Linked DNA regions of Homo sapiens: all the other regions are linked to region 6. The links are contacts of gene promoters, found by promoter capture Hi-C in blood cells and fetal thymus (Javierre and others, 2016). All regions are on one chromosome and are shown on one strand. The core of a region is centred on a gene start or on the middle of the fragment in contact, and the rest is flanking DNA. Distances in the headings are between cores, read along the strand shown.

The links. Contacts are between HindIII fragments. The CHiCAGO score rates a contact against its expected background, and 5 or more counts as called.
Region 1: a contact is called between a fragment that was not itself captured here and the fragment with the promoter of MEIS1-AS3 in region 6, in 6 of 17 cell types (M2 macrophages, M0 macrophages, M1 macrophages and 3 more). The highest score is 14.1, in M2 macrophages.
Region 2: a contact is called between a fragment that was not itself captured here and the fragment with the promoter of MEIS1-AS3 in region 6, in 1 of 17 cell types (endothelial precursors). The highest score is 5.6, in endothelial precursors.
Region 3: a fragment that was not itself captured here is called in contact with the fragment with the promoter of MEIS1-AS3 in region 6 in 2 of 17 cell types (endothelial precursors and fetal thymus); the score reaches 6.1 in endothelial precursors.
Region 4: a fragment that was not itself captured here is called in contact with the fragment with the promoter of MEIS1-AS3 in region 6 in 14 of 17 cell types (M0 macrophages, naive B cells, M2 macrophages and 11 more); the score reaches 22.9 in M0 macrophages.
Region 5: a contact is called between a fragment that was not itself captured here and the fragment with the promoter of MEIS1-AS3 in region 6, in 1 of 17 cell types (M2 macrophages). The highest score is 6.0, in M2 macrophages.
Region 7: a contact is called between a fragment that was not itself captured here and the fragment with the promoter of MEIS1-AS3 in region 6, in 4 of 17 cell types (erythroblasts, endothelial precursors, M2 macrophages and 1 more). The highest score is 6.0, in erythroblasts.

What each region holds. Positions count from the first base shown.
Region 1 is chr2:68,035,524-68,038,223 of GRCh38, reverse strand. No RefSeq gene overlaps it. Among named protein-coding and RNA genes, the nearest start is that of C1D, 26 kb to the left of the region's middle. The HindIII fragment of the contact is 4,289 bases long and covers 1-2,700 here.
Region 2 is chr2:67,869,645-67,872,344 of GRCh38, reverse strand. No RefSeq gene overlaps it. Among named protein-coding and RNA genes, the nearest start is that of LINC01812, 45 kb to the right of the region's middle. The HindIII fragment of the contact is 1,502 bases long and covers 519-2,020 here.
Region 3 is chr2:67,477,260-67,479,959 of GRCh38, reverse strand. No RefSeq gene overlaps it. Among named protein-coding and RNA genes, the nearest start is that of ETAA1, 81 kb to the right of the region's middle. The HindIII fragment of the contact is 7,874 bases long and covers 1-2,700 here.
Region 4 is chr2:67,848,414-67,851,113 of GRCh38, reverse strand. No RefSeq gene overlaps it. Among named protein-coding and RNA genes, the nearest start is that of LINC01812, 24 kb to the right of the region's middle. The HindIII fragment of the contact is 1,045 bases long and covers 928-1,972 here.
Region 5 is chr2:68,055,416-68,058,115 of GRCh38, reverse strand. All of the region lies in intron 1 of C1D (C1D nuclear receptor corepressor), which reads left to right. Among named protein-coding and RNA genes, the nearest start is that of C1D, 6.2 kb to the left of the region's middle. The HindIII fragment of the contact is 3,356 bases long and covers 1-2,700 here.
Region 6 is chr2:66,432,177-66,434,876 of GRCh38, reverse strand. MEIS1-AS3 (MEIS1 antisense RNA 3) reads left to right here and starts at 1,407. Exons shown (of 4, transcript NR_046438.2): 1 at 1,407-1,586. RefSeq lists enhancers at 1-356, 1,226-1,578 and a silencer at 601-700. The HindIII fragment of the contact is 5,363 bases long and covers 1,082-2,700 here.
Region 7 is chr2:67,831,080-67,833,779 of GRCh38, reverse strand. No RefSeq gene overlaps it. Among named protein-coding and RNA genes, the nearest start is that of LINC01812, 6.9 kb to the right of the region's middle. The HindIII fragment of the contact is 3,031 bases long and covers 1-2,700 here.

The DNA.
Region 1 (2,700 bases), core at 99-2,598, 1.6 Mb before region 6:
AATTGGGACACAACATGCACACAGGGAGAACACCTGTGAAGATTAAGGCAGAGTTTGGGATTATGCTTCTGTAAGCCAGGGAATACCAAAGATTGCCAGCAACCACCAGAAGCTAGGTGAGAGGCCTGGAACAGATTCTCATAATCCTCGGAAGGAACCAACTTTGCTGATCCTGTGACTTTGGACTGCTAGCCTTCAGAACTGCCAGACAGCACATTTCTGTTGTGTAAGCCACCCAGTTATTGATACTTTGTTATGGCAGCCCTAGGAAACACACACAATGGCCATTATTGAGTGGACACGATTGAGAAGATTAATAACTTGGATGTGAAAATGTGTGTAAAAATCTTTGGCACAAGATGAAAGTGTAATTCTGAAGAAAACCAGGAACCTGGGTAAAGTTATTCAAGAATACTTTTGAATTTGGGCAAAAATCTTGGAACTTACACCTTGAAATGTCAAGGGTCTGTTATACTCTTTCTGAAGCCAAAATGTTCAGACCTTTCTAACATACTGTCAGTTATGATTGAGTGTTGAGTATGCCATCTCTTAATCTTTATCTTGCTTGAAGAAATTTACTTAAAACCCTGTCGGGTTTCCATGGAGAGGAGATTTTCACCATGCCTATTATCATCTGCCATGTGATCTTTCCCTAATGTAATGCAACAGTCAGGTTCAAATAACGAAAATCCTGAAAAAAATCTGCCAGAATATGTGTATAATTTGTCCTCTTGGATAAGCACACACCACTTAAAAAATCGCGTATTGGATTCATCCAGATAGACATTTTTAAAAAATGTGTATGTGTCTATAAATTCTTAACTGTATAGTGTGATATTCAGTTTTCTTTATTTTTTTATTTTTTGAGACGGAGTCTCACTCTGTCACCCAAGCTGGAGTGCAGTGGCGGGATCTCAGCTCACTGCAACCTCCACCTTCTGGGTTCAAGCAATTCTCCTGCCTCAGCCTCCCGAGTAGCTGGGATTACAGGTGCCCGCCACCGTGCCCAGCTAATTTTTGTATTTTTAGTAGAGATGGGGTTTCACCATGTTGGCCAGGCTGGTCTCAAACTCCTGACCTCGAGTGATCCACCCACCTCGGCCTCCCAAAGTGCTGGAATTAGAGGCATGAGCCACGGCGCCTGGCCCAGTTTTCTTTCTTTAAAGTTAGGCATTAGACAAAATTAGTAGCCGGGCGTGGTGGCGCATGCCTGTAATCCCAGCTACTCGGGAGGCTGAGGCAGGAGAATCGCTTGAACCCAGGAGGCGGATGTTGTGGTGAGCCGAGATCGCGCCATTGCACTCCAGCCTGGGCAACAAAGAGCGAAACTCCGTCTCAAAAGACAAAAAAAAAAAAAAAAAAAAAAAAAAAAAAAAAGGTATTAGAGAACTCAGAGGCTGGGCGCAGTGGCTCATGTCTATAATCCCAGCGCTGTGGGTGGCCAAGGCGGGAGGATTGCTTGAGTTTAGGAGTTTGAGACCAGCCTGGGCAACATAGCCTCCATCTCTATTAAAACAAAAACCGAAACAAAACAAAAAAAAGAGCTCTAGTGAGAACTCAGAAGTGGGTTCTCACCCTTAATGATTTAGGGTCAAAGTGGGTTCATACTCTTAATAGTTTGGGCCCAGTTTTTTTTTTTTTTTTAAATATTGTAAATGTTGCTTTATTGGTTTTCAGCGTTTAGAATCAACTGATAGGTAAAACAAGAAAGTAAATGAAATTGACCTTGCCAGTATAAAAGTAAAGGTAGAATAGGCAGAAGTGAGTTAGAAATAGAGAACATATTAGAGGGTCATCCTTATGTGGTGAGAAACACAGATGCTGTACAAAACCGGTGGATGAATACGGTTTTACGTTTATTTTTCAAAGGTAATGGTGATTTATTCTTTTTAATTCTTCTATCAAAAATTGGAAGGGAGAAAGTAGTATAAATTAAATCCTGAGTTTTCAGGCTGGGGAGCTAGTAGATGATATCCAGTGATACAGCAAATGTAGGTGAGTGTTAGGAAAGTTATCACCAGAACTAAAGACAGAAAAGGTTTACAAGTGAGAGTCCCTCACACCAGCAGGAATGAAGTAGATAGTTTTGTTTCTGGTTTTTTCTGTTTCTATTTTTTCCCATCAGATTCTCATGGTGAATATTTTTTGTTGTCATAAACATAATTTCTTTGGTAAAACGAAAGAGAAAAAAAGTTGTAGTGACAAGCAACAAAATTCGTTCAAAGAAGCAGCATGACAATGAGGTACTCCTGTGAATACGAGTTATTTAGTTACTGAAATTTTAAGCAATAAAACATTTCAGTGATGGAGAAATAATATAAGAATACTTAAATGTGGTAGCAAATATTTCATTATCATATATATACATATATATAGTCTGTGAGCATTAACTATTTTTCCTAAATTTGGGCTCAGTTTACTTTTAGACAAGTTGCCTTCCAGATATAGTTAGAGAATAAGAACTCTTATTTGGAAGTAGGTCTCTTCCAAATCTGCCTTCCATGGTATTTTGAAACTTCTGAATCTTACCAAGATAAGTTTAGACACCGCAACAGTAGGGTTATCATATGTAAATGATAGTGTGATTTTTGCTTGAATGTCTTAATAATGCTAAATTGAAAGGGATTTTTATTGTACCTAATTTTCATCAGGGGAGGTTAGTTTGTAGGAAATGTGTTTATAATCTGTTGTCTCACTGGA
Region 2 (2,700 bases), core at 20-2,519, 1.4 Mb before region 6:
CGGCGTTTTTATAGTGCTGACACAAGAGAGAGCATTTATGTGGCTTCCATTCTCCATCTGTCAACAGTTAGGGTAGAGTGCCACTACCTCAGGTTCACTCTTGATCTGATTTCCATGTCAGCTTGGCGCAGGACTGCGGGCTATGCTGTGGGAGCAGGGCGGCTCTGGAGGTCAGTTGCCCCACGTTTTCAGACCATTAATGGTTAGAAGGCTGGAGAGTAAATCGTTTCTGCATGACTCAGAGGAAAGTGCCATTTCCTCTCCTTTATGGTTCATCAGAACCTTGGCCACGCTGCGTTGGCCTTACTTTCCCTGGGCCTCACAGAACTTTGTCCAAGTTCCATTTCGAGAAAGTGGGACTTTCTGTCTCTCACTGGATCTGGTGTTTTCCTGGCCCTGAAACAGCAACCCAGAGAGCTGGTTAAATGATGAATGAGAAAGAAATGCTTCTTTTAGTGTGTGCCTCCACACTTCTGCCCTTACCAGTAGCGTCTGTGTGATTTGTGGTGTAACAAGCTTGCTTTTCCTGTCACTTCAGCCCCCACAAAATCTGTTGGAACTGAGAAAAATCGCAGAGATGTACAATCTGGGAATGAGGGTGACTTGATGTGAATGAATGGAAGAGATTTGCTTCTTCCCACTCTCCTGATGATAGAATCTGTGGGTTCTATTGATTTTTTGGTGCAATTGGTCTTGGTGAATCATTATTAATGGGAAAATAGAATCTCTTCAAGATAATTTCTTCTACATAGAATCATTTATAAAGAGGCCATATGGCTAGCCATAGGTCAAAGGTGGGTGAAGCAAACTCAAAGATGAGCATAGATGCAAACTTTGTCAGGGAAGTTTCTAAGAGAACAGGGATCTATGGAGCATCCAGGGGGAGGTTTTAGTTTGGTCAGTTTCTCCTAGTTTCTTAATGCCTGTTGTTGTGTTTTATCTTTTTCCTCTTGAGAATGTAAGATGAAATAAAGAGAAGCAGAGTTTTGAGCTTTGTTTGCTATTGTGGGTGTCTTGTGAGCTGAGGGTCCTGTACAGCAGAGTCAGGAACTTATTCCACCATGGAAGGGAGATGAGGAGAGTGAGCTGGACGATTTTTGTTGAACAGAGTAATGGGAATGGATACAGTTTATTTAGCACTTTTATGTGTCACTGCATGCTTTATTTACACTATTTCTAATCTTGACAAAAATCTTGCAGAAGAGATGGCTTTACTCCTGTTTTTCAGGGGAAGACACAGACTCAGGTTAAGTAACTTGCTCAGACTTTATAACTAATAGGCGGCAAAGCTGGAAGCCTAACCTCTGTCTGTGTGACCCCATCCTTCTCCAACGCTGTGACATTTCTACCATGTAAAATCTGCTGTGCTAAATCTCATAAGTTGTGAGGAATCAGCATCTAAGCTACTTGCAAGGAGGAGATTTTCTGAAAGAAATAACGTCAATTCAAGAACATGTCCTACATGTAATACATGTGTTAGCATTTATTTGTCAGCATTTATGAGGCACCCACTTCGTGCACAGTTCTGTTCTTAATTCTGTCAGAGGAATGGTGATGAGGATGGGGTGGGAATTGCTTAACATTATTTTTGAGATCCCTAAACTCAGAAGTGACCATCTCCTTTCTAGTAATTTTTGACACTTAACTATTTGAGCTACCTCATTAGGATCCACTCACCTGTGTTGTTGTTAGTTACTTCAAGTCTTTAAGACCACATAATGTGTTTTCTTCTTTATGTTTGCCCATGTTGAGAGTCCTGACACTGTACCAAGTAGGTACTTGATATATATTTAATCAATTGATTGATTGATTGACAGTGTCCACTTAGATCTGCTTACATTTGAAAAGCCAGGGTGCTTTGAAGGGGAGACAGGACAGCTGCAAATGCATACACAGAAAGCTAGAAAATATCATCTGAGGCAGCTACAAAAGTCCATCCACAAGCTGGTGGAGAAAATTCCAGCATGAGAAAAAGTTGTTCGTGTACAAATGCAAATTGCACATAAAACGGATTGAAGCTTGATTGTGGAGCCTAGCTATGTCTCTGAAGAAGCCACGAGTACCTTTCGGAGCTTCTTACTCCTAAGGATCTCTTTCAGCCTTAGTTTAGGGTGGTAATAACTTAAACTCCAACACTGGATGGCCATTGATCAATGAAATGAGCTGGCAGTTTTCACAGACAGATTCGTGAAATGAAATATCTCAAACTGACCAGCCTGAGAACATTTTTCACAGCCTATCCATCCCTTCTGAGCTATTCAGAGAGCAAAGAAAAAGAAATTAGAACTTTGAAATTGCTGCTTGTTCAGTGGCAAACTCTCTGGGACACTGAATGAGTTGCAATTTATCCTGTTTTCCCACTTAGAGAATTGGCAACAGAAGCCACACCAACCACACTTAATGAGTGTAGATATGTCAGGTGCTGTACTAAGTCTCTTGATCTCATTTAATTTTCACTAGGGACCAGCAAGGTAGCGACGGTTATCCTTATTGTGTGGATGAGGAAACTAAGGCTCAGAGAAGGCAGTGAGTTACCAGAAGTCACACAGCTAGGAGGTGGCAGAAGAAGAACTTGAACCTCAGGTCTCTTTAATCCAAAGCCATGCTCTTAAATGTTTGATAAACTGCATTTTCTCTTTTCTAACATTTCTTCTTAAAAGAGAAAATGCTTTTCTTTTCAGAGTGGAATTTGAAGACAGT
Region 3 (2,700 bases), core at 50-2,549, 1.0 Mb before region 6:
CCTTCTATATCTAGATCATTTGTAAGGGACCTATTCCACCTTACCGTGCTTTTCCTCTTCAAAATCTTTACCACCTTCCATTGCTTCCCTCCTCCACTCATACCAAACCCCCTACCTGCTCCCAGAGCTTAAAACCACAAGTTCTTTTCTGGAATCCTCTCAAGACAACAGAGCTAAAAGAGTTAGTGGAAGAGCCCTCTACTCAGACATGATGAGACCACTTGTTAATCAGTTAATCCAAAGTTTGTTCAAGTGGGGAATGATTTAAAATGATATTACACTTAAACATTTATTTTAATGCACGTCCATTTTGCAGCTGTTGATGCAGGGGTGAGGGTCCTTCCTCCTGTCTGGGTCCTCTGGAATTCCACAGCATCTTTCTTATATAAACCATATCCATAATATATTTCTACAATTTCCAGTTTGGAAATTTCTCTGAAAAAAATATGATACTTGCAAAGCACTTTGACTGCCAAAAGAATGTCCACATTGTTTTGCAGCTTTTTCCAATTGTTCACAGTTGTCTGGCCCACCCCATTTCAACAGCCTACTTTTTTTTTTTTTTTTTAACAATCCTACTTTAAACAAAAATCAACTATATTAAGTCTTTCAATGTGCTTGGCTAAATTTTCATAGATTCATGAAAATACATTCATAGCTTCATATTTTATTAAATGACATAATTATAATAAAAAGTACAATGATGGCCAGGTGCAGTGGCTCATGCCTGTAATTCCAGCACTTTGGGAGGCCAAGGCGGGTGGATCACGAGGTCAGGAGTTTGAGACCAGCTTGGCCAATATGGTGATACCCCGTCTCTACTAAAAATACAAAAATTAGCCCATTGTGGTGGTACACACCTGTAGTCCCAGCTACTCGGGAGGCTGAGGCAGAAGAATCACTTGAACCCAGGAGGCAGAGGTTGCAGGGAGCCGAGATCACGCCACTGCACTTCAGCTTGGGCAACAGTGCGAGACTCCATCTCGAAAAAAAAAAAAAAGTACAATGACTTAAGGAGGTTTAGGGACAAACTGTAGATACCATTGGTCCTCAATGAGAAGACACTAGCATTCATCCTGTGGAGGGTTTTATGCAGTGAACAGAGAGCATTTGCTAATCAGGTGGGTCTGATCTGGCAAAGCAGTTAAGTGGGGGCCGTTTAAGAAAGTGTTTGCGGTAGATCTATCAAGTTAAAAATTTTGGAGCCTGTACAATTTCTGATGATTGGCAGAGAAACCCAGGATATAGCTTATCGCCACAAACTCAGTGTGTGACCACAGATAGCAGTGATATTCGAAAGTATCCAAAAACATCAACCAGGCTGGGCACTGTCCAATTAGAACACATGCTGCCCATTAACCACCTGTAAAGATATACTGTGTGTTCTAGTTGAATATCAGCTCTGATGTGGAAAAGCTGACATTCGCGACCTTATTCACTTGCAAATGAAAATACAAGAGCGGTTGGTCAAGCAATACTCTAAGTTCCTTCTAACTCTGACATTCCTTATTGAGCTATGTACACCCCTAATTAATTTCCTTCCATGGGATTAATCATTTTTCTGATTCAATTGTTTGTTCTTTTTCTGGATGGGGGTCATCTCGGAATTGTCGTTGAGACATAGATTCTTGTGGGCAATAACAAGAAGACAAAGCAAGGGAGGCATGACAAGGTATACATTAAATGTAAATGTATAGTGTATATTTTCTATATGCCACGGTATCAAACAGATCTGCTTGCACATACTCATAACCACATACTCACATCCTCCCACCTGATTCTCTAGGGGTCTGTGTTCTGCATGTTTTATTTTGTTTTTTAACCTGGGGATGATGCTAATTTTCATGGCTTGCTTCGTTTACACAGATTGGAGCATGTTTTCCACATACAGCTTCTTGTTTGCCAACAAGCCCAGCTGTTGGGGGGCATAGAAGATCACCCAATTATAGAAAACAGTCTTGAATACCTTTTCATGTTTCCCTCGCCTACCCTGGAGGCTCTTTTCCAACAACTACAATTTTAAGGGCCTTTTTCATTTACAGGAAACATTTACTTCTTTATTACTTTTGTTTGTTTGTTTCCAACTCATCCTAAAAGAGTTTACCATAGCGTAGGTAGGGGACCCTTTTCAGTTCTCCTCTAACAGCCCACAGGGAAAGCAAAACCAGGAGAAACCAAGGCCATGTGACCAGATGAGAGCAGGCTTTTATTTTGAACTCCCTAAAAAGGGAAACAGGACCCAACAGATTTGAACATTTGCTTGGAAAAAAAAAAAGAAAAGAAAAAAATCTCCAAACTACTTTACGGTGTTAGCCCAGGCTCCTGTATGCCAAGTCCCAGCCCATAATAAATTTTATTGCAATGTTATAAACTCCTGAAAAGAGGAACTTGGAATGAAAGTGCTGACACAAGCTGCCAGAGCCAGGCCACTTCATTCTTGTGGACTCTGTCCTGACATCAGCACACGTCTAAGGCAAAACCCCCAAAACTGAAAAAAAATGTTTTGCCCGACGGATTCTTTGATTCTCTCTTAATTTTAGTTAAAAAGAACGGGGGAGGGGACCTCATCAATGAGAAACGAGCACTCTTGCAAACAATACATGACTGCATGTGGATGCTCCTGGCTTATAGCTCAAAGAGTTATTCAGCTGAAGTTAAATTCATTTTGCAAATGAAGCCAACCTTTTTTGAGGGGTGGGG
Region 4 (2,700 bases), core at 201-2,700, 1.4 Mb before region 6:
GACGTCAGAATCTTTTGAAGACACGGCTATTTTTAACACGGAGGCCATGAGAATTCTTGAGTTTTGATTCTTTGATTCTCCCACATTTCTGGAGAGATAGAAAGATTGGGTTTAACCTAAAGAATTAGTTTGCTCAGATCTGGGGCAAGGATTTACAGAGGGCTGGATTTAGAAGATCCTACCTTAAAAAAAATGTCTTTCAGCATCAGTGATGGCAGAGACTTAGAGATAAAGGGTGTAGGTGGAAGTAGGAACCTGACAGGGAGACCTCCAGAGAGTGTATTTGTGGAGCTTCTCACTAGGGTGTAGTTGTCTCTCTTTTTTGGTGATTGTGCTTACATTGAGAGAATAGGGATTTGCATGGGCACAACTTATTAAGAAAAGGCAGAGCAGATATTTTGAGACTTAAAGCTTTTCATAAAGAACCAGAGAAGATTTGAACCGTAGTACCTTATCTCTCTGCCATTCACATGGTTCTTTTCTCAGGAACTTTCAAGTGGCGATTAGAATCATGGCATTCTAATAATGAAGGGTCTCACGGAAATTTTCCAGTCCTATCTCCTTATGTTATAGATAAAATGACTCTGGCACACTGAGGTCAAATTTTGATCACCCTCTCCCACCCAAGATCCAGACACCAAAGGTAGAGACAGTGTCCTTGTGTTCTTGGTAGACTGAGGTTAGGCTCACTTTCATTTTTTCCAGCCCCTTCTTATGCTAATAGATGTTGCTGATCTCACCATATGCTGAGTCCATATATCATTATCTTTAATAAACATTAATTGAGAGTTTCTCCTATTGTATACAAGGTTCTGTTCTGCGCACAGGCAAATTCAGTGACAAAAAAGACATAACCCATTCATTTAAAGACCTTAAAATCTTCAAGAAATAACATCAGGGTTCAAAAACATAAAGTAGTTTAAAGCTTATGTGTTCTGCTCGAGAGGTATAATTCAGAGTCCCAGCCTACAGGCAAGGGTGGGGTTTTAGTGCTGGCTTTCTGCCTTTATCCACTGTGACAACTTGAATATGTCACTTGCTATTTTTGAGCTTCTATCCCATCAGTTTAAAAACACTACTATTAATAATGTCTGTCCTTCCGAGTTTTGAGGCATAGATGAGATAAAATTGCCTGAAAACTGTGAAGCGTAGTAGAAATTAAAGGGATCCATATAAATTGAAGATCCCACTCTTGTGGGCATGTGCCCACGGAGTGAAGAGTTAAAGTAATTTATCATCCACTTATCATCATCATGATTCATATCTTCATTATTATAATCCAATTCCTTTTATTAAATACCTCCTTATACGTGGTACTTTATTATTCTCCAGTATCCTAAAACCAAACTGCTACTTTCACTTGACATTTCCAGGTGATCGTGACAAATCAGGGTCGACATGATCTGGTTAGATGTGGCAGTTGCCCATGTCACTTTTTGTATTTGTACATTGGCCACTTGTTTAGCACTTTGTTTGATTTTAGTCACACTATGTTCAACAGAGTGAGACAGTTGAATCTTAACCCAATAATGGGACTTAATTTCTTTATCAAGTTCACAGATGATGACTTGTAAATGTTGACAGTGATGTGACCCAGGAACAATGTCATTCCTATGGAGGAACTTTATGGAGAGATAGCACAAGTTTCAAATAATCTTAAAGAATTCCTCCATCCAATCAAAGGCAGGGGTCCCGAGAGTGTACTGTGACCCAGTGGTTATGATGCTTATTGTTAATGTGGTTGTCAAGGCTGAAATAAACATTCTAAGCTGGAAGTAACTCTCCTTTACAGATGTCTTTGCATGATTCTGAAGCAACCCAGGGATCAACCTGATGTTCATTTTATTCTTCCTACTGTTCTTTTACAACAGGAACTGGATTTTATTTGAGGGACAATGTGCTCAGCTTCTCTTGTAGCTAGAAGTTAGCAAATTAAATTAAGAAGTGGCTCAGTGGGATGTCCAGGAAAGCTTGAGAAGGGAACAATAGCTGACATGTACTTCCTTTTGTTCTTCCCATTTTTTTCTGCTCCATGCCTGGATATAAATGTGACTACTGGAGGCCCAGCCAACAGCCATCTTAGACCATGAGACAGTGTTGCAGATGGAAACCATGTGCTAACTGTGATGGAGCATAAAGATAGAAGGATCCTGACACTCCAGCACTTCCATGTCCTCCTGGACTGCCTTGCTCAGGACTTCCTTCACACGAGGAGGAAGCACATTTATTTAATCACTGTTATATCCAGCCCCTGCTACTAACAGTCAAATGCAATTCCTAACTGATACAGATGCCTTCCCCTCAATGAGTAGCGTCCTTGTTTCTTTGCAGCTAGCTCCTGGAAACGCTGTCTGTTGGTCTATGCTGATTCACAAGCCCCTACAAGAGCAGAGTTGGACTCAGCTTCTGCTAATGAGCAGAGGAATTGCTTGCGAATACAATGCTGGGATTATAAGGTGCTGGCAGCCATGCCAGAATAATAAGGCCAGATGGAAAATCATACTAGTAAATATCTTCGGTGAATATCCTGTCCCACTCCAGTGCCCTCCAAATACCGTAGCCCAGATCTACAGTTCATGTGGTGGGATTGCAGCCTCTCTTTCCCAGAGCCATCATTTCTGTCTGTGGGGAGAATGATGAGGGTCTTGGGTACTACTCCAAATTTTTCTCTGTGTAGCTATTCAGCAGGAGCCCATATTT
Region 5 (2,700 bases), core at 127-2,626, 1.6 Mb before region 6:
AGGTATCAGGGATAAATAAAGGAACTGTCAGGCAACTGACAGAGGACCTGTTGCAGTTGGGTAGCATTAATTTATGTCTTTTGTGAATTTCGTTAGGAATGAATGTTCAGTAGGCCTAGAGCTAGAATGGTTGGCTGGGGGCAGAAAGAGAAGATGAGAACTTGCAAAAGCATCTTTAAACCAGTTGACTGGGAGGTATGGCCATGTAGCAAGCAGGCCAGAGGAGGCTTTTGTACCATGAGAATAGAGGAAAATAGCCGCCTGGTGGCTAGACAATTTAGGTGTAGAAAACACATTTATATGGTTCTTTGAATGTAACAGTGGTAAAGAATATAGGTTTAGTTGTTGCTGCTAAGTAGGGGGAAATGACATTTTTATCTGGTATGTTTGAGAATAAAGTAAATTTCAAAATTTGAGATGATCGAAGTTTTTATTTATAAACTTAAGTATTATTATAATATGTTACATATTTTATTCTTTAAAAATTGTAATTCAGAGAGTGTAACAAAATGTACTTCCTCACTTTCTTGCTTTTTGTTTCCCAGAAGTGACCACAGTTAACAGCTTCTTTTGGATCCTTTAAGAAAACTTACATGCATATACCATACAAATATGCCTCCACATTCATATATCTTTTTTTCTTCAAAATAAATGGGATGAGCTGGGCGTGGTGGCTCACGCCTCTAATCCCAGCACTGTGGGAGGCTGAGGCAGGCAGATCACCTGAGATCAGGAGTTTGAGACCAGCCTGGCCAACATGGTGAAACCTCATCTCTACTAAAAATACGAAAAAAAAAAAAATAGCAAGGTGTGGTGGACGCCTGTAATCCCAGCTACTTGGGAGGCTGAGGCAGGAGAATCACTTGAACCCAGTAGGGGAGGTTGCAGTGAGTTGAGATCGCACCACTGCACTCCAACCTGGGCAACAAGAACGAAACTTTGACTCAAATAAATAAATAAATAAATAGGATGTATTATACATGCTGTTCTTCAACTTTTGTTCACTTAATATATCTTAGGAATCTTTCTAAGCTGTACCTCGTACCTTTTCACTACTGCAGAGTATTTTAATAGGTGGGCATATCATAATTTATTTAACCAGGTTCTAATAATGGATGTGTGGGTTGTTCTGTTTTAAAGTTTACTGTTTTAAAGATCATTGCAGTGGAAGTCCTTAAACATTATCTTGCGCTAAAATATACTTTGAGAAGTAAAATTGCTAGGTCAAAGCATGTGTACATATGTGATTTTGAAGCATAGTGCAGATTACCTCACAAAAATGCTAAACTAATTTATACCCTGACTAATAGTGAATGGGAGGCTGTTCTCAGCTCACCTTTGTCCATTTTAGTACTATTAATCTTTTTAATTTTTCCCTATTTGACAGATGAAAATGGCATCATATTTTAGCGATTTATGTTTCCTTAATTATCAGTAAGGCTGAGTAGCTTTCTTTATGCTTATTGGTCATCTGGATTATTTGTGAACTGTTGATTTTCTTGTTTATTTTTCTTTTGGGTTGTGTGTACTTTTTTTGTTATTGTTAAATTGATTCATAGAGGCTTTAAAAAAATCTTTGTGTTGCATATGTCTTTTTTTAGTTTTTTATTTGACATTAGTCTTGGGTGTTTGTTTATTTGTTTATTTTGCCTGCATTTTTAAGGGCCAGGTAAAAATACAAGAAATTAGGATTTTTTTTTTAAAGAAGGGAATTTGCTGGGCTCGATGGCTCACACCTGTAATCTCAGCACTTTGGGAGGCTGAGGTGGGCAGATCACAAGGTCAGGATTTCGAGACAGCCTGGCCAACATGGTGAAACCCCGTCTCTCCTAAAAAAATACAAAAATTAGCTGGGCATGGTGGCACGCACCTGTAAAAGGCAGGAGAATTGCTTGAACTTGGGAGGCAGAGGTTGCGTTGAGCTGAGATTGAGCCACTGCACTCCAGCTTGGGCGAGACAGCAAGACTCTGTCTCAAAAGGATTTTTGTGATACTCTTGAAATAAATAGACACTCTAGAATGTGAGCCTTTTGTTGGAAATGTTAGTAATACAAACTTCATTTGAGACTATATGTTCAGCAACTATCACAGATGTAGTGAGCACCCAGTAACCTTCCTCTCCCTCACTCCAGTTATATTTGGAATTGAAATGAGATGTAATGGAGCTGCTTAAATATTCTAGACGACACCTTCTCTTTAGTTATTCTCCTATATATGAACGGAGTTGTATTCTAAAAGCTAGTTTGTGAGTTAGCCATCTAATTTCACTATAGAAATAATGTACATAGGTTCTTATCTTTGCTCTCAAAGTTGTAATAATTTGTGGAGGCTACTTTTTTTTTAAGCAAATTCAAAATGTTACATAATTTTACCCCTCTATACTTCAGTGTGCATCCTCAAAAGACAGGGAAATTTTCTTATATAACTGTATTGCTATTATCATAGATGACAGAATTATCAATAATTTGTTGGTGTCATCTAGTACTTTGTCCATGTTCAGATTTCTTTCTCACAGAACTATCTTTTTCCACTTGGTTTATTTGAATCAAGATCCAAACAAGGTCTGTGTATTTCATTTGGTTGTTACATCTCTTAAATCTCTTCTTCCTCTGTCTTTCTTCCCCCACTTTTTTTTTTTTGCTTCATGCTGTTGACTTGTTATGGAAACCTGGTCAGTTATCCTGTAGAGTACTGTATTTC
Region 6 (2,700 bases), core at 158-2,657:
CCCCTGCAGACTCTCTCCCCAAAGCCGACTCTCTTGAAATAAATTGGGAATCAACGCCGGGCAGGCAGCAGCGGGAGTTATTTTGCACAGGGCTCCGCGCATAGACTTCATGACTTTCCTCGAAATTATTGGGGTCTGCCAGTGTTTTTCGGGGCAGGGGGTGATGCGCAAAGTACTGAATTCTCAGAACTAAACACTGCAAGGAGAAAAGTCAAAGCGGGATCGTGGAGGAAAAGGAGGGAGAAGCCAGGTTGGGAAAGCCTCTGCTAAGGAGTCCTGAGAACATGGGGTTGAGGTGGCTCGGGCTTTCTGCAGACCCAGCTTAGAGGTTTCTTTGCTGTTAGAGGTGGACGCCCGGCCGGGGGAAAGAAAATGCTAGCATTTTGTCACTTCGGGTCTGGACTCCCCCACCTCCTAGCCCCGGCGGCTCCCAGCCCCAGCCCAGGCGTCCTGCGCGAAGTAGAGAGGAAGGGAGGGAACAATGAGCTGAGCGCGGGGAATGTGCCCCCAGCGCCTGTTTACAAACACCAAGCTATTTATGATCGTCGGAAAGCGAAACCCGGCGCGGGCTCGCAGCAGCCCAGACCTCGCGGGCGGAGCCGGGGCCGGGGAGCCGCTGGGAGGGAGGCTCTTTCTCCGACCCGCTCGGGGTGAGGCGGCCGTGCGCCCAGGGCGCGGCGCGGCGCGGCGCGACGCTGCCGGAGTGCTAGGCTCCGGCTGCAGCCACCGCTGCCTTTGTCTTAGAGGCGCCGAGGGGCTCCAGCCTCGACCTCTCCCGGGCCTGTAAGAACCTCGCGCCCCACTAGCTCTTTCTCCAGCGAAGCCCTGCCCTCACCACCCCAGACATCCTTCCCCGCGCTCCTCTTTCCCGTCCCCAACCCGGCTCGGCGAAACCTCCCAGTGCCAGAGAAAAAGAAATCCGCTTCGGAAGCTGAGATTTCAGACAAAAGCTGCCTGTACCTACAACTCGGAGGCTCCAACCAACCACTGTTTTTTGTTTTGTTTTGTTTTTAACTTTAACACCTATTGCCTGGGCTTTAATTCCCCCTCACCCCTTCTCTTTATTCTCCCGCTCTAAGCTTCTCCCTTGTGATTATATTTAGTGGCGTTATTTTCGTATTTATATTTCTGTCCGCTGGGCTCTGATCTGCCGAGATGGCTCAGCCGCAGCAGCTCTACCAGTGGCTGGAAACCTCACATCCACAAGCAGGGCTCGCAGCTCGCTCGGCTCCGAGAGGATTTTTCCCCCTCCCTCCAGCTGAAACCTCGCAGAAAACTCCCCCTGCGGTCGACTGGAAAATGAGCTCACCCAAATCTCGGTAGGCAGCCGTGGAGGAGTGCTCGGCCAATCAGGAGGCGCCCCCGCCCAGGCCGCCGCGCATTGGCTGCGGGGAAAATCAATTATCAAATAATCGATCAGCAGGGAGCTTCGATCTGCGGGGAATGCGAACTGCCAGTCCCTATTCCCGCCCTGAAGGTGGCCAAAAGGCTGACTCCCTCCAAGCAGCCCGCCCGCGCCTCCATCGCCCCCACCCACGTCCCACTCGCCAGCTGCGGACTGAACCCTCACCCTCAAGGGGGTGTAGGTAGGGAAAGAGTTTTGAGCAAGATTGGGGGTATCCCTTCATCCGAAGATTGTTTGGGAAAGGTTAGGAGCTCTAAAATGTATTGAAGCCAACTCTTAAGCGCAAAGTAAAAGATAATTTGCGTCCGTCTGCGAGGTAGGACTGAAGATTCTATAGAGTGGGCTTCCGAGGAGCAGGAGACACAGGGCGAGCATGAGAACATAGGTCTGGAATGAGGTTCCACCGAGCGTCCGTAGTCTCCTTAGGCGACATCTATCGCTTCCTTTAGCACTTCGCAGGAGTCAACGCGGGGTTGGTTGCCCCCAACAGTGGAGCGTTTCCATAAAGCCGAGCAGATGAGCCTTCCCAGCCGCCTGCACTGCACCCTTCCCCGCCCCCAACTCCGTACTGGCACCCTGTGTGCCTGAAGGGCTGACACACGTTCTCCCAAAACCTTCAGAAGCGCTTTGCCTTGAAAGAGCTCTCCCTCGTGTGTGTGTGTGTGTGTGTGTGTGTGTGTGTGTGTGTGTGTGTGTGTGTGTGTTTAAACCATCTCCAGGATCCCTTATCATTTGCTTCCTCTCTCCTTTTTCTCTCTGTTTCTCCCTGTCTTTTTTCTGACGCTTAAGTTTCAGGATCTTTTAGTTTTTTTCCATCACATACATGTGTAGGTTTTCTGGTACAAACGCCCTGAAACATCACTTGGGAGGTTAAGACAGGCCCGCGAGTAAAAGCTGGGGACGGAGTGGGTGGGCAGCCAGGTGCATTACCAGCGCCTTTATGCCTCTGCCTACACTTCCCGGCCTCCCCCCATCCCCCCACCCCCCCACCCCACGCCTCACCGTCGCTCCCCGGCCCCACAACATGAACTTGGAAGCAGAATTTCAGGCCAAGATGGAACCTCCCCGTCTCAGGAAGGCGATTTCTGTTTAATCCTTGGGAGGCTGCGCTGGCTGGGCCAGGCAGCACGCTCCTTTTCCGATTAGGGAAAGGACTAAGCTGGGCCGGCAGTCTGCGACCCCTTCCCGGAACCCCAGCCGACTTCGGGGTATACCTGAGCGCCTTCCGATGGCTGCTCGCGGGGGTGTGATCATCGTCCCCGCATCAGGCCCGCCAGGCATCTGCGCGACTCGGG
Region 7 (2,700 bases), core at 68-2,567, 1.4 Mb before region 6:
GTGGTTTAGGAGCAGAAGCGGAAAAATCTAAAGAAACACAGAGACACATACACAGAGAAGCTGACTCATTTTAATGATGGAACATTAGAGAAGGACCCTGTGAAGACTGTCTTCTGTGGGCGTGAGTTATGTCTATATCTTGAACACAGAGTGACCTCTGGCTCCTGTCTCCCCCATGCATGCCGGACACTACTTCCTCTTTATCCATCAGGCCTGCATGCTGAGATTATTTTCAAAGTTCCTGGGGGGCCAACGAGGTAACTGAGGCTTTAGTTGAATCCTGAAAACTCTACGTTGTGAAGGAAAAGGTGGAGTTTGGGTGGGGATGTACACGTGGATTGGGTCTCAAAGTAAAGCAGCTTTGGATTGCTTGAAATCCTTGGATGCTTGATGGCAGAGGTTTGTGTGTGGGCTGAGAGTGGGTGCAGAAATAATGGAAGATGAAGAAGAGTCATATGTCACAATTTTTTCCAGGGCTGCTCAAGAATTTTGCCAGTGGTGCCAATCTATTTGTAGGGATTTGGTTGATCAGCTCACCTATCTTTCTAGAATGTTTTCCTTTCCACTCCCATTCTCATGGTTGCCAAGAGAGCACACAGCATAATTCTAACTCCTTGCCATAGTTAATTGGCCCAGCAGTGGGGAGCTGACCCAAATTGGGCCAATGTGCTCTTTTCCCAGGAATTTGGAATGGGTCCTAAGAGTCAATTTTGACTCTTTCTTGGTACCAGGATTTGGATCATGCAGAACTCAGGAACCATTGAAAAAATGTTTTCTGCTATAAAAAAAGTTTTCTGGCAAATAGGAAGAATGACTCTACAATATGGCAGAGGAAAATGGAGCAGATACACTGGAAAAAATCAAACAGATGCACAGAAAGAAGAAAAATCTGGTTCCCTACATGATTCTAGTTCTTGTTCTAAATGGTTTCTGAGACTAAATTGCATCTATCCTCGTATTCCCTGAGATATTCCAATATCCTTTCAACACTTGTTGTTTGTGGCTTAAGCCATTACAAGTAGGGATCTGTCATTTGCAACTGAGAAAGCCCTAATGAAAACATGCTTTAGAGAAGGTCTCCTGTTGCTGAGGCAGGCCTTTCTGGTTCAACTGCAATGATAGATGGAAGGTAGTGGTGGGCTCAGATCAAAATATGCCATGGAGAATGCCGCTCCTTCTTGTTTATCAATAGTCTCATGACTACTAGCTTGAAGGGTGTTCACAAGATACTCCATCCATCCATCCAATCATCATCTAATCATCTATCCATCTATCCTCTATCCATCTCAGAAAGATTTCCTGATCTCCTCTGTTGGCTAGACTCTATGCTAATGGCTACTCTGTGACCTCTGGTTACTGGTTTTCATGTTGTGCCCGTATTTAGTATATGATGTTATATTAAGTCCTAAAATTATGGTAACACAGAACAGGCCCAGTTCCCTACATTTTGATTCCTACCCCTCATAATATTTCTTTCTATTTTGTACAAATGTGAAATATGTAATTAATACTACCTCTTCTTGGGAAATGTCTTACATCCAATATCCCAAATGCATTAAATACATCATTTAGGTGGTTTTGTGTGTGTGTGTGTGTGTGTGTGTGTGTGTGTGTGTGTGTGTTTTGAGACAGTCTTACTCTGTCACCTAGGCTGGAGTGCAGTGGCGCAGTCTCAGCTCACTGCGACCTCTGCCTCCTGGGTTCAAGTGATTTTCATGCCTCAGACTCCTGAGTAGCTGGGACTACAGGCGCGTGCCACCACACCTGGCTAATCTTTTGTATTTTTAGTAGAGATGGGGTTTCACCATGTTGGCCAGGCTGGTCTCGAACTCCTGACCTCAAGTGATCCACCCGTCTTGGCCTTCCAAAGTGCTCATTTAGGTGTTTTTATATGAAACAGAGAAGAGGCCAGGGGCCAGGTACGGTGGCTTACCCCTATAATCCCAGCATTTTGGGAGACAGGTGGGAAGATGGCTTGAGCCAAGAAGTTTGACACCAGCCTTGGCAGCATGGTAAGACCCCGTCTCTACAAAAAAGTTAAAAAATTAACTGGACGTGATGGTGTGCATCTATACTCCCAGATGTTTGAGAGGCTGAGGTGGGAGGATCACTTGAGTCTAGAAGTTTGAGACCAGCCCAGGCAACAATGAGACCCCACCTCTACCAAAAAAAAACCCAACAGACAAAACGAAACCAAAATTAGCCTGGCATGGTGGCACACTCCTGTAATTCTAGCTACTTGGGAGGCTAAGAGTGAGAGGAGTGCTTGAGCCCAGCAGTTTGAGGCTGCAGTGAGCTATGATCACCCATTATACTCCAGCCCGGGCCACAGGGAGAGACCCTGTCTCTGAAAAATAAAATAATAAAATAAAATAAAATAAAAAATGGGTGTCTCAGAGTCCCTGTCCAGAGACAAGGACACCATTCCTGATGGGTGTTATGTTTGGGATCTACTGGCTCTTTGTCCAAGTTTCTTCATTTTCTTTTTGAAGGCTTAGGTGCTGGTTGAGAGGGTGATGTAGGTTAGCTTGGTTTTCAGCTGTCCTAACCCCTCTTTGGACCATAGATCTTTTCCAAGTATCCTGGGCCCCCCAGAATCATTCACTTTCATTTCATTTCTGCTGAAGACTCCTAAGAAGGGAAATTTTCATCTCTGAATTCAAGCCTAAGCCGGAGCTTCTCCCACGAATAAACTTTCTC